Linked DNA regions of Homo sapiens: all the other regions are linked to region 2. Evidence: promoter capture Hi-C in 16 types of primary human blood cells and fetal thymus (Javierre and others, 2016). All regions are on one chromosome and are shown on one strand. Each heading gives the region's core, a stretch centred on a gene start or on the middle of the fragment in contact. The rest is flanking DNA. Distances are from core to core; before and after follow the strand shown.

What was found. The method cuts DNA at HindIII sites, captures the fragments that hold promoters and counts their contacts. A CHiCAGO score of 5 or more calls a contact.
Region 1: a fragment that was not itself captured here is called in contact with the fragment with the promoter of ADCY4 in region 2 in 4 of 17 cell types (naive CD4 T cells, naive CD8 T cells, activated CD4 T cells and 1 more); the score reaches 5.5 in naive CD4 T cells.
Region 3: a fragment that was not itself captured here is called in contact with the fragment with the promoter of ADCY4 in region 2 in 1 of 17 cell types (activated CD4 T cells); the score reaches 6.8 in activated CD4 T cells.

The regions. Positions count from the first base shown.
Region 1 is chr14:24,116,591-24,120,916 of GRCh38, reverse strand. DCAF11 (DDB1 and CUL4 associated factor 11) reads right to left here. Exons shown (of 15, transcript NM_025230.5): 3 at 3,873-4,000; 4 at 3,524-3,651; 5 at 3,185-3,249; 6 at 2,762-2,862; 7 at 2,383-2,529; 8 at 2,113-2,167; 9 at 1,704-1,772; 10 at 1,301-1,358; 11 at 1,021-1,206; 12 at 1-79. Among named protein-coding and RNA genes, the nearest start is that of NRL, 3.8 kb to the right of the region's middle. The HindIII fragment of the contact is 3,232 bases long and covers 1-3,222 here.
Region 2 is chr14:24,333,502-24,337,631 of GRCh38, reverse strand. It overlaps ADCY4 (adenylate cyclase 4), which reads left to right and starts at 2,561. Exons shown (of 25, transcript NM_001198568.2): 1 at 2,561-3,138. The coding sequence starts at 2,980. RIPK3 (receptor interacting serine/threonine kinase 3) reads left to right here. Exons shown (of 10, transcript NM_006871.4): 8 at 172-546; 9 at 687-747; 10 at 1,237-1,607. The coding sequence ends at 1,457. RefSeq lists silencers at 1-20, 2,855-2,934, 3,005-3,164, 3,825-3,924 and an enhancer at 1-189. The HindIII fragment of the contact is 4,552 bases long and covers 1,473-4,130 here.
Region 3 is chr14:24,087,218-24,091,525 of GRCh38, reverse strand. All of the region lies in intron 1 of NRL (neural retina leucine zipper), which reads left to right. Among named protein-coding and RNA genes, the nearest start is that of PCK2, 4.9 kb to the left of the region's middle. RefSeq lists enhancers at 1,062-1,111, 2,027-2,526. The HindIII fragment of the contact is 5,113 bases long and covers 1-4,308 here.

The sequences.
Region 1 (4,326 bases), core at 357-2,856, 220 kb after region 2:
CCCGGCTGGAAAAGCGTCGGATATCCCAGAGTTTGATGGTCTGGTCTTTAGAGTTGGAGATCAGATACCGGGCATCACCCTATGAATCCAAAGGTGGATAGTGAAGCATCAGAGCTTGCAAATGTCGGCGCCTGTCAGTCTAGTTCCCGTTCTCTAGTTGAGCAGAAGAACTCTGGCCTCTGGCTTTACTTGCCTCTCTTCATCCAGGTGAACTCATTTCCAGCGTTCTGCCTCAGATCCTACCACCTGGCTAGGTTTTCCTTTCCTTGCCCAGGCTACTGGCCGGCTTTCCTATTCTAGCCTTAATCAGATTGTCTTCCATTTTTCTTTTTTTAATTTTTAATTAACTAATTTTTTTTTGAGATGGAGTCTTGCTCTGTCACCCAGGCTGGAGTGTAGTGGGGTGATCTCGGCTCACTGCAAGCTCCGCCTCCCGGGTTCACGCCATTCTCCTGCCTCAGCCTCTTGAGTAGATGGGACTACAGGCGACTGCCACCACACCCAGCTAATTTTTTTGTATGTTTAGTAGAGACGGGGTTTCACCATGTTAGCCAGGATGGTCTCGATCTCCTGACCTCGTGATCTGCCCGCCTCGGCCTCCCAAAGTGCTGGGATTACAGGCATGAGCCACGGCATCTGGCCTTAGTTTTTTTTTTTTGTTTTTTTTTTTAAATAAATAGAGATGAGGTCTCGCTAGGTTTCACAGGCTGGTCTGGAACGCCTGAGCTCAAGTGATCCTCCCACCTCAGCCTCCCAAAGTGCTAGGATTACAGGTGTGAGCCGCTGTACCTGACCGGTCTTCCATTTTTCTTGTACGGAAAGCCCTGCCCTGCTCCTTGAGGACTGGTGAGTACAGATGGAATTCATGTTCCCTGGCTTGAGCCCCTTCCCTAAACTCCAACTCTTACAAACCTTGGTTAATAAGGAGCTTGTCAAATTCCCACACCAGTCCGCTTTCATGCCCTCCTGGGCAACTAGAACCTTAGCGGCCTGGCTGTACAGTCCTGACTTCTGGCCCACCTTGCTGTCAATGAAGGTGATGCCATCCTGGTGTCCAGCCAGTGCACCCACAGGCTTGGGGTCATCCTCCCGCATGGTGCGTCGATCCCACACTTTGCAGATGGCATCATCTCCCCCAGAGAACAGGATTTGGGAGCTTATATCAGCAAAGGCCACTGCATTCACATCATCCTCATGGGACTCAATCTAGGCGAAAAGGAGGCCAGGATATAAGACCTCTTTCTAGGTCTTATAAAAAGCCAAAAACCAGGAGGCAGAGGCTCTATCTCAGGAGCCATACCTGAAGGGTGCGCCGGTTCTGTTCTCGGTCAAAGACATACAGGCAGCCATCATTGGCCCTGAAAGGGAAGGGATAAAGGAGGGTCCTGGAGCCATGATCGAGAGGACCAACGTGGTATATGCTCTAGAGAGTTCCACTGAGAAATCCTGCTCTGGGTCAAGCCCTTTGCTCTTTTTATACAGGAAGTGGGGGAAGAGTTAGCTGTGTTTCAAGGAGGCTTGACACCTCCAATCTCGTGCTGGGGAAATGGAGAGCAAGGGGTGAAGCAACTTGTAAATCCTGACCTTGGGAGAAGGTCTGGTTGTTCTCTGCAGCTGCCAGTGCCATCTGTGTAACAGCAGAACTCATCTCTGGCAGAACCCCCATCTTGTTATTGAGGGAAACATACCCCACAAGCACTTACCCTCCTAGTACTTCTCGTCCATCTGAGGAGACAGCAATGGAGAAGACAGCAAAGCGACGCTCATCTGGCCTAAAAGCAAGAAGGAGCTGGGTTAAGTGGACTTCCTTCAGCTTTTGTTAATCTACATAAAATCTGACAACGGTTGTAAGGCACATCCCCAGGGGAAAAAAGAAGTCTGGCTAACATGCACCATAATGCAGATGCTCAGTGAGAACCCAGAAATCATCCTGCAACCATCTATTTTACCCAGTCCTCTGGCTGACAAGATGGTGCTTCCCTCCCAGGAATGCACACAGACCCACCAGTATACTTTTTCCCCTAAACAGAACTTCCAACTCAAGAGGTTTGCTCCCAAAGAGCTTCCCTTGAGAAGTTTCTGATGAGTCTGACCAGAAAGGGAAGCCAGTACCTGAGATCCAGGGCAGTGTGTGTATCTCCCTCACCATAGATATTGCAGATATGAACTAAGAGAAGCAAGAAAAACAAGAATCTTTCAGGGATGGGGGAAGAAGAGTGGAAGTGAAGCTAGGGAAGAGATCAAACAGGGGACAAGGGTACTGGAGCACTTTGGGAGTGATTTTCCCAGGACAAAGTGAGGGATCCTGGCTCAGAGGGGACAGGCACATGGAAACCTCAGGTCCCAGGCTGGAGAGTCAGTGGAAGCCTGGTGCATACTCACTGTAATCAGACCAGCTAGAGTAGAGGAAGTGGTTCCCATCAGGGGTGAAGGCCACATCCAAGACGCTCCAGCCTACGTCGCGGGCCTTGATGCTCTTGAATTTACGGAAACGGCCATATCGGCAGTCATAGAGTCGGATTGTCTGGTCTGTGTAAGTAAAGATCAGGCAGAATTATGGGACAGTTTCCTTGTAACTTTTCTAGATTAGACATCTCCCACTCAGTGTACCTGTGGAGTCTTCCCTTTATCATGGGAAACATGGTCTGGCTAAGCATCCTTAAGCCAGGTCTGAGCTCCCCGTCTGTGGCTTTCTAGCCTCAGTCAGGGGGAATGTCCCATGTTCCAGGAAAAGATAGTTTATAGGACCAGGGTCTGGTACCTTGGCAAGCAGACATGAATATTTGACCATCTTTGCTGTAGATGCCACAGAAAGCCTTCTGAGAGTAGCTATCAGTGAAGCCCAGATCATTGGGCAAGAAGCTAGGGAAGGAGAGAGAAAGTGAGGGTGAGGGGTGCTCAGGATAAGGAGTGTCCCAATCAGCAGAATCCTAACAGAGCTGGAATATCAGAACAGTCATTCTTCCCTTTTGGCTGTGAGTGCAATCCCGTCTTTCAACCATTCCACCATCCTCTAAATTTCTACAATTTTCTACACTTTTCTACTTTGTTTACTCTCAAAGTTTCAACCCCATTTAACCTAACCTTTAATATCTCTGAGGCTCCTTTAACACCTACCCCTTCAAAGTTTAGGAGATAAGACCTATCTGGCCCTTAGAGTCTCTTCACCAAGCCCCATACTCACTGAGATATCACTCGAGACTGTTCTCCAAGGGAGAAGCTTCCCCGATGGCAGAGGCCCCGTTCTCTCTAAATGGAAGGGATTGGGGAATATTGCTAGCAGAAATAGAGGGCCACTTCAGCCATATCAAGCCCCCTCCTCCAAAGATATTGCTCTTGTTATAGAAATGGACACACACATCATAGTCTGTCCCACAGAACTCCGATGGAGGCTGGTTAACTCTCCAGCCCCAGCGCTTGAGGCTTCTACTTTGGAAAGTTGACTTCCTTTTTCTCTGGGGCTGGCAGAGCTTCTGGCTGCTTTGGCAGGCCTGCTGCCAGGCTGGGAGGTGGAGAGGCCTACCTGGTGCAACATTCGAGGAAAGCTGTGCTTCTGGGCGGCCCGCCTAAGCCCCAGCTGCCCTGTGGCCAGTTCCACTTGTGTCTTGATCTCATTGAATTCCAGCTCCCGGGTGTCAGGGGTAGCATCCACTGTGAGTACCAAGGAGAAGTTTCATCCTAGGTCTGCCAGCCTCAGAGGACAGTTAGCAGAACTGTACCCAAGCCCACCCCTGTGGCTGAATATACTGGGGCTGTAAGGACTCCTTATTCCTTAAATTATCGTACCTTCTTTCAATGTAACCTATCATTCAAAATATCACTAAAAGGTTTTCTAGTAAAAGTCTTCCAACATTAGGGGCTTTTCCTCTTACCAGGTGGGTTGTATCGATCCCCAAGACGACCATCCCAAGCTCTGTCATTCTCTTCCTCTGAGTCCAAGAGGGCCTGAATGAATTGTAAATTTGCTGCACCTCCTCCCTGCACCAACCTCACTTGGCCTCTGTGGAGAGACCCCCATTATAAAGGAGGGGACTTCTTCCCCCAAACCAACCAAATTCAGAGTCAATGGCTATCTAGCTCTTAGACCACTTGGTACTCATTTTGAGGTTTGAGGCTGACTAGACCTTGGCTGTTATTTTTGGTCTCCTATAAAACACAGTAGGAAAGAGAGTTTTACTCTTACAGCAAGAGCAAGACCAACATGCTGTGGACGTGACCTACTAAGTTGACCTCCCAGCGAGCTAAACATTCTAACATCATTTCCTTAGAACAAGAGCAAGACCAATACGCTGTGGACATGACCTACTAAGTTGACCTCCCAACAAG
Region 2 (4,130 bases), core at 1,312-3,811:
CATCCAATGACTCACCACTGACCACTGCTTTTTATGCCTTGACCTTTGTACCCACCGTCCCCAGCCCACCCCTGAGTTCCCAGACAACAGATTATGGACCGAGAGACTACTCCCTTGGGTTTACTCTGGCTCATCCAAGTCATACCCAGCAAACTCCTCCCATCCCTGCAGGTAAAGGATTTCCTGTCTCAGCTCAGGAGCAGCAATAGGAGATTTTCTATCCCAGAGTCAGGCCAAGGAGGGACAGAAATGGATGGCTTTAGGAGAACCATAGAAAACCAGCACTCTCGTAATGATGTCATGGTTTCTGAGTGGCTAAACAAACTGAATCTAGAGGAGCCTCCCAGCTCTGTTCCTAAAAAATGCCCGAGCCTTACCAAGAGGAGCAGGGCACAAGAGGAGCAGGTTCCACAAGCCTGGACAGCAGGCACATCTTCAGATTCGATGGCCCAACCTCCCCAGACTCCAGAGACCTCAACTTTCAGAAACCAGATGCCCAGCCCTACCTCAACTGGAACACCAAGTCCTGGACCCCGAGGGAATCAGGTGAGACATTGACAGGATTAGGGGATGCACTAAGAGTCCTATAAATGCTGTCCCCTTGCCAGCGAAAACTTGGGGCTGAGAGGAGTGCAGTGGGAGTGCCAGGCTCCAGGGCAGAACTGGATGCTCTGTGCTGTTTGCAGGGGGCTGAGAGACAAGGCATGAACTGGTCCTGCAGGACCCCGGAGCCAAATCCAGTAACAGGTACCCATTCTCTACCTCTTTCTTTTCCCTGTTCAATTCTTCCACCAGACTCCTCCTCCAGACCTATATCTAGATTCAGGGTACTTTGTGGAGGGGAGGGGAGAAGATGATCTAACTCAACCTTCTCATTTCATAAATGGGAAAACCGACACCCCCTGAGAAAGGAGCCCTCTGAGGTCACACAACAAAGCTTGGATTTGTCCCTGAATCTTCTAACTTTCCACAACACCAGCTCTGTGAGCCCCCTAAGTTCCATTGTTTCAGCAGTCCAGAGGACCTCCCAGCAAAAAAGATCAGGGTCTCAAATGTCAATTGCCACTCTCTAGAGCTTCTGCTAACACAATTCTGGAGAGGAGCTCTGAGGGGAGGAGCACAGGGCACACCTTGACACAGCCACTGACAAGTAGAGACTTCATACTCCCCACCCACCCCCAACTTGGCCTTTCTGACAGCTAAACCCTCCTGCCACCATCACTATTTCTCTTAAAGGGCGACCGCTCGTTAACATATACAACTGCTCTGGGGTGCAAGTTGGAGACAACAACTACTTGACTATGCAACAGACAACTGCCTTGCCCACATGGGGCTTGGCACCTTCGGGCAAGGGGAGGGGCTTGCAGCACCCCCCACCAGTAGGTTCGCAAGAAGGCCCTAAAGATCCTGAAGCCTGGAGCAGGCCACAGGGTTGGTATAATCATAGCGGGAAATAAAGCACCTTCCAAGCTTGCCTCCAAGAGTTACGAGTTAAGGAAGAGTGCCACCCCTTGAGGCCCCTGACTTCCTTCTAGGGCAGTCTGGCCTGCCCACAAACTGACTTTGTGACCTGTCCCCCAGGAGTCAATAAACATGATGGAATGCTAGTCAGTCTGAGCTCAGCCAGGGGCAGGGAGGGACTGGGATGGGGGTGGGAGCTGCCAGTGAGGGATAGGGAGGCACCACAGCTCTGCTATGGCAGGAAGTGGGGATGCTGGGGGCTGGGAGTGGGCAATGGCCTGGCACACAAGGTCAGGGCACAGCCGGCTACAACAGGAAGGAATCCTAGAGGCCTGGTTCCCCAGACCACTCTCTAATCTCAGGGCAGTGCTTCCTCTAAAGCCTAGGATGGCGACCCCACCCTAACCCTAAACTCTGGGGATAGAGGCTGTGGTCCCTTTTCTTCCGGGCTCTCAAGACTCACTTGCAGGGCTCTGGCGAGGGATGAGTTGATGTGAAAGATCACAGACCTGGCCCCGCACGGTGCCCCCAGGCTCTTAGAGATCATGACGCCACATACCTGCCTCCACCACACACTCAGGTTGCTTCCTGGACATTGCTTCCCTTTTGATTCCCAGTTGCTGTTCGGGAGTGGAAAGCTATGGCTCCTAAAGCTATACACAGGCGCAACCCCTCCCACGGAGCATGAACAGTTCAAACCCGGTGGTAGTGGTTGCCAGCCAAGCGGAGAGGTCAAGAGAATGAGCGCCCCCAACTCTGACCTAGATCCCCACCAGGACCCACATTCTTCCCTACATTCTCGCCAGGCTTCAGCCCCCCGCCCTCGGTCTCCCCACTACCAAACGTTCACCTCCATTTGGACACATCCCATTGGGTCCACCCCAGCCCACCCCTTCGCATCTCTCCCAGGGTCCACATTGCCCTTCCCTGAAGGGGCTGAAGCGGGGAGGCGATGGTGTTAGGAGAGACAAAACCAAGTGCGGGAGGAGACCAGGGGAGTCCGGCTTTGGCACAGGAAGGGGCCGGGCTGTCCCGTCGGGGAAGTGGGAGGGGGCCGCGGCGCCGGGAGGGAAGCGCCTGTCGCCCGGGACTCTGAGCCAGAGCGCAGCGGCGAGCGTGACTCCGCCATCAGGTCCCCGGCTCCCTCCCCGGACCTAGCCCACTCCGCTGCGCCAGCGCCGCGGGCAGTGAGTTCGGGGATCAGGGGAACCCGGGGCTCCCTCGCACCAACCCCAAATCCTGCCCTCCTGGCGATGAGGCTTTTCTAGGGCACCTCTACAATCCGGGTTTGAGGGAGGAGGAGGAAAGGACTGAGGGATCCCCTCATCGCCAGCTGGGAGCGGGCTGGGAGGCCGCAGGGAGGGCCTGAAAAAGGAGACGGGATTGCCACGAGGTTGGGGGCGCGGGGTGGTAGCGGCTTTGAGCGGGTGAGAAAAGCTCAGGTGGGGCCCGCCGGGCCGAAGGAGGTAACCCGGCGCCCGGCCCTAGCCAGCCCCGGGGCTCGGGGCTGGGGAGATCATGGCCCGCCTCTTCAGCCCCCGGCCGCCCCCCAGCGAAGACCTCTTCTACGAGACCTACTACAGCCTGAGCCAGCAGTACCCGCTGCTGCTGCTGCTGCTGGGGATCGTGCTCTGTGCGCTCGCGGCGCTGCTCGCAGTGGCCTGGGCCAGCGGCAGGGTGAGCCGAGCCTCTGCTGCGGGAGGGTCTCTACCTGGGGAGCATTTTCGGGGTTGGGGTTTGTGGGGTCTTCTTTTCGATGTGTTTTCGTTGCTGGGAGCAGAGAAAGAAAGGACCATTGAGCCTGGCTAGGAACTGCAGTGACCCTGGGCAAGTCACTCTACCCTTCTGGGTCTGCTCAGGGAGAAAGCTGAGTCCTGGATGCTTCTCGTTTCTGTCCGGGTTCTGACAGACTTTATGAACATCCGTGGTCTACGGGTTCTACAATAAATCCATCACCGGATTTTCCAGTTTTCCAAAGGGGAAATTCTAGGAGGCCCCTGGGGAATTCATTTCCTGCCTTTCTCTCCCTCTTAGGGGATGTAGAGCAGTTGTACCCACAGACTCCCAGAAGGCACCCTCCACCGGGCTCTCACTGAGTCCCAAAGTAAACCCATGTCCAGTTTCTGTTTGGGGAGGAAGAAGGTCTTCAATCCAATTCTAGAAATGGCCTGCCCCTGGTTTTCTTTTCACTGCTTGGAGGCAAGGTGGGAAAATCACCGGGCGCGGCCAATCCTTGCTGGTCCACGCCTAAATCCGGGAAGAGGTGGGGACAAAATGCTGGGACGGCTGTGCAGCTTCTGCTTGGAGTTGAGGCAGGTGGCGAGATCGCAGCCCTGGTGGCCAGGGAGGTGCGGGACGCCGCGGGTCCTGGCGCCCCCTGCTGCTCGAGCGCTGCCTCGCGCCGCCCTTCAAGCTGCCGGCCGCGGTCCCCGGCTCCGGGAATCTCCCGAGCAAATTGGCCAGATTTGGAGACATTCATTCCGAAGTGCCTCCTTGTGAGCTTGGATCTATCTTTCACTTGCTTCATGACGCTTTGGTTCCCGTTTGACAGATAAGAAAACTGAGGCTCAGAAACAAATAGGGGATGGGAGCCAGATCTTCTGGGTAGCTGTCCCAGCAAGATAATAGGTTGGACAACAGGAGGCTGGGCGCTGTGGCTCACGCCTGTA
Region 3 (4,308 bases), core at 1,280-3,779, 250 kb after region 2:
CATGATATCTTATGTCCTTCATAATCTGACTCCTATTTATCTAATGTTGTCACCCCCACATCCCCACTTGCCTCCTTTTCTCCTACGTACTGAACTCTGAAGTTTCCAGAGCACTTCTGTGAACTTTTTCTGGGCATCTGCACTCAAATTAAACACACACCATCCTGGCCAACATGGTGAAACCCCGTCTCTACTAAAAATACAAAAATTAGCTTGGTGTGGTGGCGCACGCCGGTAGTCCCAGCTACTCAGGAGGCTGAGGCAGGAGAATCGCTTGAACCCGGGAGGCGGAGGTTGCAGTGAGCCGAGATCGCACCACTGCACTCCAGCCTGGGCAACACAGTGAGACTCTGTCTCTAACACACACACACACACACACACACACACACACACACACACACACACAGGCCTTTTCTGTTCGTCCCTTAGAATGAACATCTATTTCATCTGTGTTGCTTCTATCCCATGTATATGCCTATATTTTTGTACTTTACTATACTGTAGTTACTTTTATATCTCTGTAATCCTCACTAGAGTGATGATTTCAGTCTTGTTTTTCTCCTAGTTCCCAGCAGTACCTGGCCTATAACAGGCACTTAATAAAAGTTGGTTGAATAAAAGAATGAATGAGTGCCACGTTTCTGAATTCTTCTTCCCCACCATTACTTTCTTCTCTAGCTTTAGGCAGATGGAGCAAGGGGCTCACGTGCAGATTTCCTTGCACTGCTCATTTCCCCTTATCTGCCACACACTTTTCTTTAGTTCCCTGCCGGGAGAGCCTGGCCCACCAGCTGGCCCTATGTCCAAGGAGTACCACCAGGGGGCAGAGTGTGATCTGCATTGTCCTCTCTGGGGCCTCTGGGTTCATCCCTGAAGTCTCACAGCCCGAGTAGTGATGCTGTGGTGTGTAGCCCAGATTCCCGCTTCAGGATCATGATGCTCATTGTTCCAGCTGCTGAGTGTTGGCTGCTGATAGCTCACAGCTGAGTACTTCCTTGAGCACTATCTGTGGCCAAAGGGAGCTGTCTCACCAAATGCAATGCCCGCTTCCTGGGGGCAGTATGTATCCAATGAATGGTTGTTATAAAGTACAGAGGCCTAGCCCTTTGTCTCAGTTTGGGACAACTCTGAAGGTCCATCCCAGCCCCAGAGCTCTTTAGGCTCAGCTGATTACAACTGCAGTGCCATTCAACTGTTCCCTCTCTTGGGTCCTGCTACTCTTTCTTTGAAAGTCCCCCCCCGTGCCCCCCCCCCCCCCCCGAGTAAACCACCTGCACACAAGTTTCTGTCTCAGAGTGTGCTTCCAGTTGCAAATATTCCTCAGGCTCAACTTGGTTACGGCATTAGTCCTCTAATCTGACTCTTATTTCATTGTTGCCTTCCTCCACAAACACAAAGTGCTGACATACGTGATCCTTCCGAACACAAATCTGATCACATCATGTCTCTACTGAAAACCCTTCAGTAGCTTCTCCCTGCTCTTAGAATAAAGCCCAAACCCTTAATGTGACCTCCCAGGCTCTGCATGATCTGGCCCCTGCTGACTTCTCCAGCCTCAGCTATCACTGTTCTTCCCACCTTCCAGGCTTTCTACTCTCTGGCTACGTGGATCTTTTCTCAGTTTTGTGAACATGTCTACATCTTTCCTGCCTCACAACCTTTGCATATGTTGTTTCTGCCGCCTGGAATTCCCACCCTGTCCACACCTCCAGGCAGGGTCACTTCTTATTCACCTGACCAGTCTTGGTTTAGCATGACTTTCTTAGGCAACCTGTCCCTGTGATGCATCCCCTCTGGCTTTGTATTAGAGTATGTCTTCGTGGAAGAAAATTTCATAGCACCCTGCCCTTCTTCTTCTTAGCACATTCATCTCTGTTTAAATGGTTTGTTTTTATGTAGACACATCTCTAACATATGTAGGACCTGCGGCAGGAGTACAAATAGAGGCCCTCAAACCTTGTGTTTAAATATTTAAAATGGGCTGGGTGTGGTGGCTCATGCCTTGTAATCCCAGCACTTTGGGAGGCAGAGGCTGGAGGATCACTTGAGCCCAGGAGTTTAAGACCAGCCTGAACAACATAGTGAGACTTCTTCTCTACAAAAAATAAAAAAGTAGCCAGGCATGGTGGTGTGCACCTGTAGTCCCAACTGCTTGGGAGACTAAAGTGGGAGATAGCTTGAGCCCAGGAGTTCAAGGCTGCAGTGAGCTATGATTGCACCACTGCACTCCAGCCTGGGTAACAGAGCGAGACCCTGTCTCAAAAAAAAAAGATTAAAATGTATAACTCAGGGTCGGCGCAGTGGCTCATGCCTATAACCCCAGCGCTTTGGGAGGCTGAGGCGGGTGGATCATTTGAGGTCAGGAGTTCAAGACCAGCCTGGCCAACATGAAACCCTGTCTCTACTAAAAATACAAAAATTAGGCCAGGCGCAGTGGCTCACGCCTGTAATCCCAGCACTTTGGGAGGCCGAGGCGGGCGGATCACGAGGTCAGGAGATCGAGACCATCTTGGCTAACCCAGTGAAACCCCATCTCTACTAAAAATACAAAAAAAAAATTAGCCAGGCATGGTGGCGGGTGCCTGTAGTTCCAGCCGGAGTCTGAGGCAGGAGAATGGCATGAACCTGGGAGGCGGAGCTTGCCGTCAGCCAAGATCGCGCCACTGCCCTCCAGCCTGGGGGACAGAGCAAGACTCTGTGAAAAAAAAAAAAAAAAAAAAAATTAGCCAGGCATGGTGGTGCATGTCTGCTACTTGATAGGCTGAGCCAGGAGAATCACTTGAACCCAGGAGACAGAGGTTGCAGTAAGCCGAGATCACACCACTGCACTCCAGCCAGGGCGACAGAGCTATCTCAAAAAAAAAAAAAAAAAAGTATAATTCAGGCTAACAAACTGTTACACAAAATATATTCTGTTCTTCTACCTTGACAAATATATTGACAAATACATACTTCACAATGGCCTGGAAGGCCAGGTTCAGATTTGTATTTTATTTGGAATCCTCAGGGTTCTGCACCAGAATGTGATGGTGTAGGGGGATGTAGTTTTGGCCACTGGCCCTCAGCTGGGCCCACTTTGCCTCCTACCCCTGACACCATCTTGGACTGCAAGGGGCCTTGTGTGGAACCATGTGGACCTCCCATCAGGCCATCCCAAGTCTGTCCACAGTCTCCTGCAAGCAGCTACCCCTTGTCTACCCTTTGACCTCAGAATGTGTGAACCAGTCATGTGGCCCAGCCGTGGGAGGGCAAACCCAGGGAAGAGGTTCACGTGGGCCCTAGGAGTGGGCTTGGGCCTTTTGGACAGGGAATGCTTAGCTATCTGGAGTGTGGTCCTGAGAGGATTAAGGTATGGGCAGAGGATAGTTGGACTCCTCACCCATGTGGTGGGACATAGCCAGAGGAGGCCAGAGTGGAGCCTTCTAAAGCACAGGGCCCAGGGCAGGGGCCACTCCTGCCTGGGCCTAAGGACAATAATTTATTTATTATTTTTTTTTTGAGACAGGGTTTCTTTCTGTCTCCAAAGCTAGAGTGCAGTGGCACCATCATGGCCCACTGCACCCTCATCCTCCCCAGGCTCCTGATCCTCCCACCTCAGTTTTTGTATTTTTAGTAGAGACAGGGTTTTGCCATGTTGCCCAGGCTGGTGTCGAACTTCTGGGCTCAAGCGATCCACCCATCTTGGCCTTCCAAAGTGCTAGGATTACAGGCATGAGCCTCTGCACCCAGCCAAAGGGCAATAATTTGATGTTTCTCTGTTTCATCAGTCTGTAAGTTTCTTGAAGTCAGGGCTGGTATTAGTGTAAGTTACTGAGGGGTCGCTAATGCCTTACTCAGGATGTGGTGCAGAATAGGTGTTTAATATGCATTTTTCAAAAGAATGTAGGAGGTACACCAAGAAGAGGTTGAGGATTTGGATCTATTACTGAAGATCTAGATACCATGAGCCAGAAGTAGGAATGAGAACCAGTCTTTCAGGGTTCCAAAAATGAGAGTGCAGGACAGAGGAGAGGAGGTAGCATCCTGGAATGCTGACTGTCTCATTTTCTCTCCTTCCTCTTCATTTTCTACCCCACTCCTGCAGGCCCTTTGCCTGCCTGCCCCTCTTTCCCCATGGTCCAATATCACTCCATCCATATCTTGCTACCTTTCTGTCCTTTGGCCACTGCTCTTCCTCTGTGGCCTATGTGTCTATTTCTTTGTATTGGTGTCTAGGTCTTGGTCCCCAATCTTATGTCCTGTCCCTTCCTTCTACCACTCTTACTGTTCTAGTCCTTGTTGTCCCCTACTCCCTTCTTGGTCCTCTCC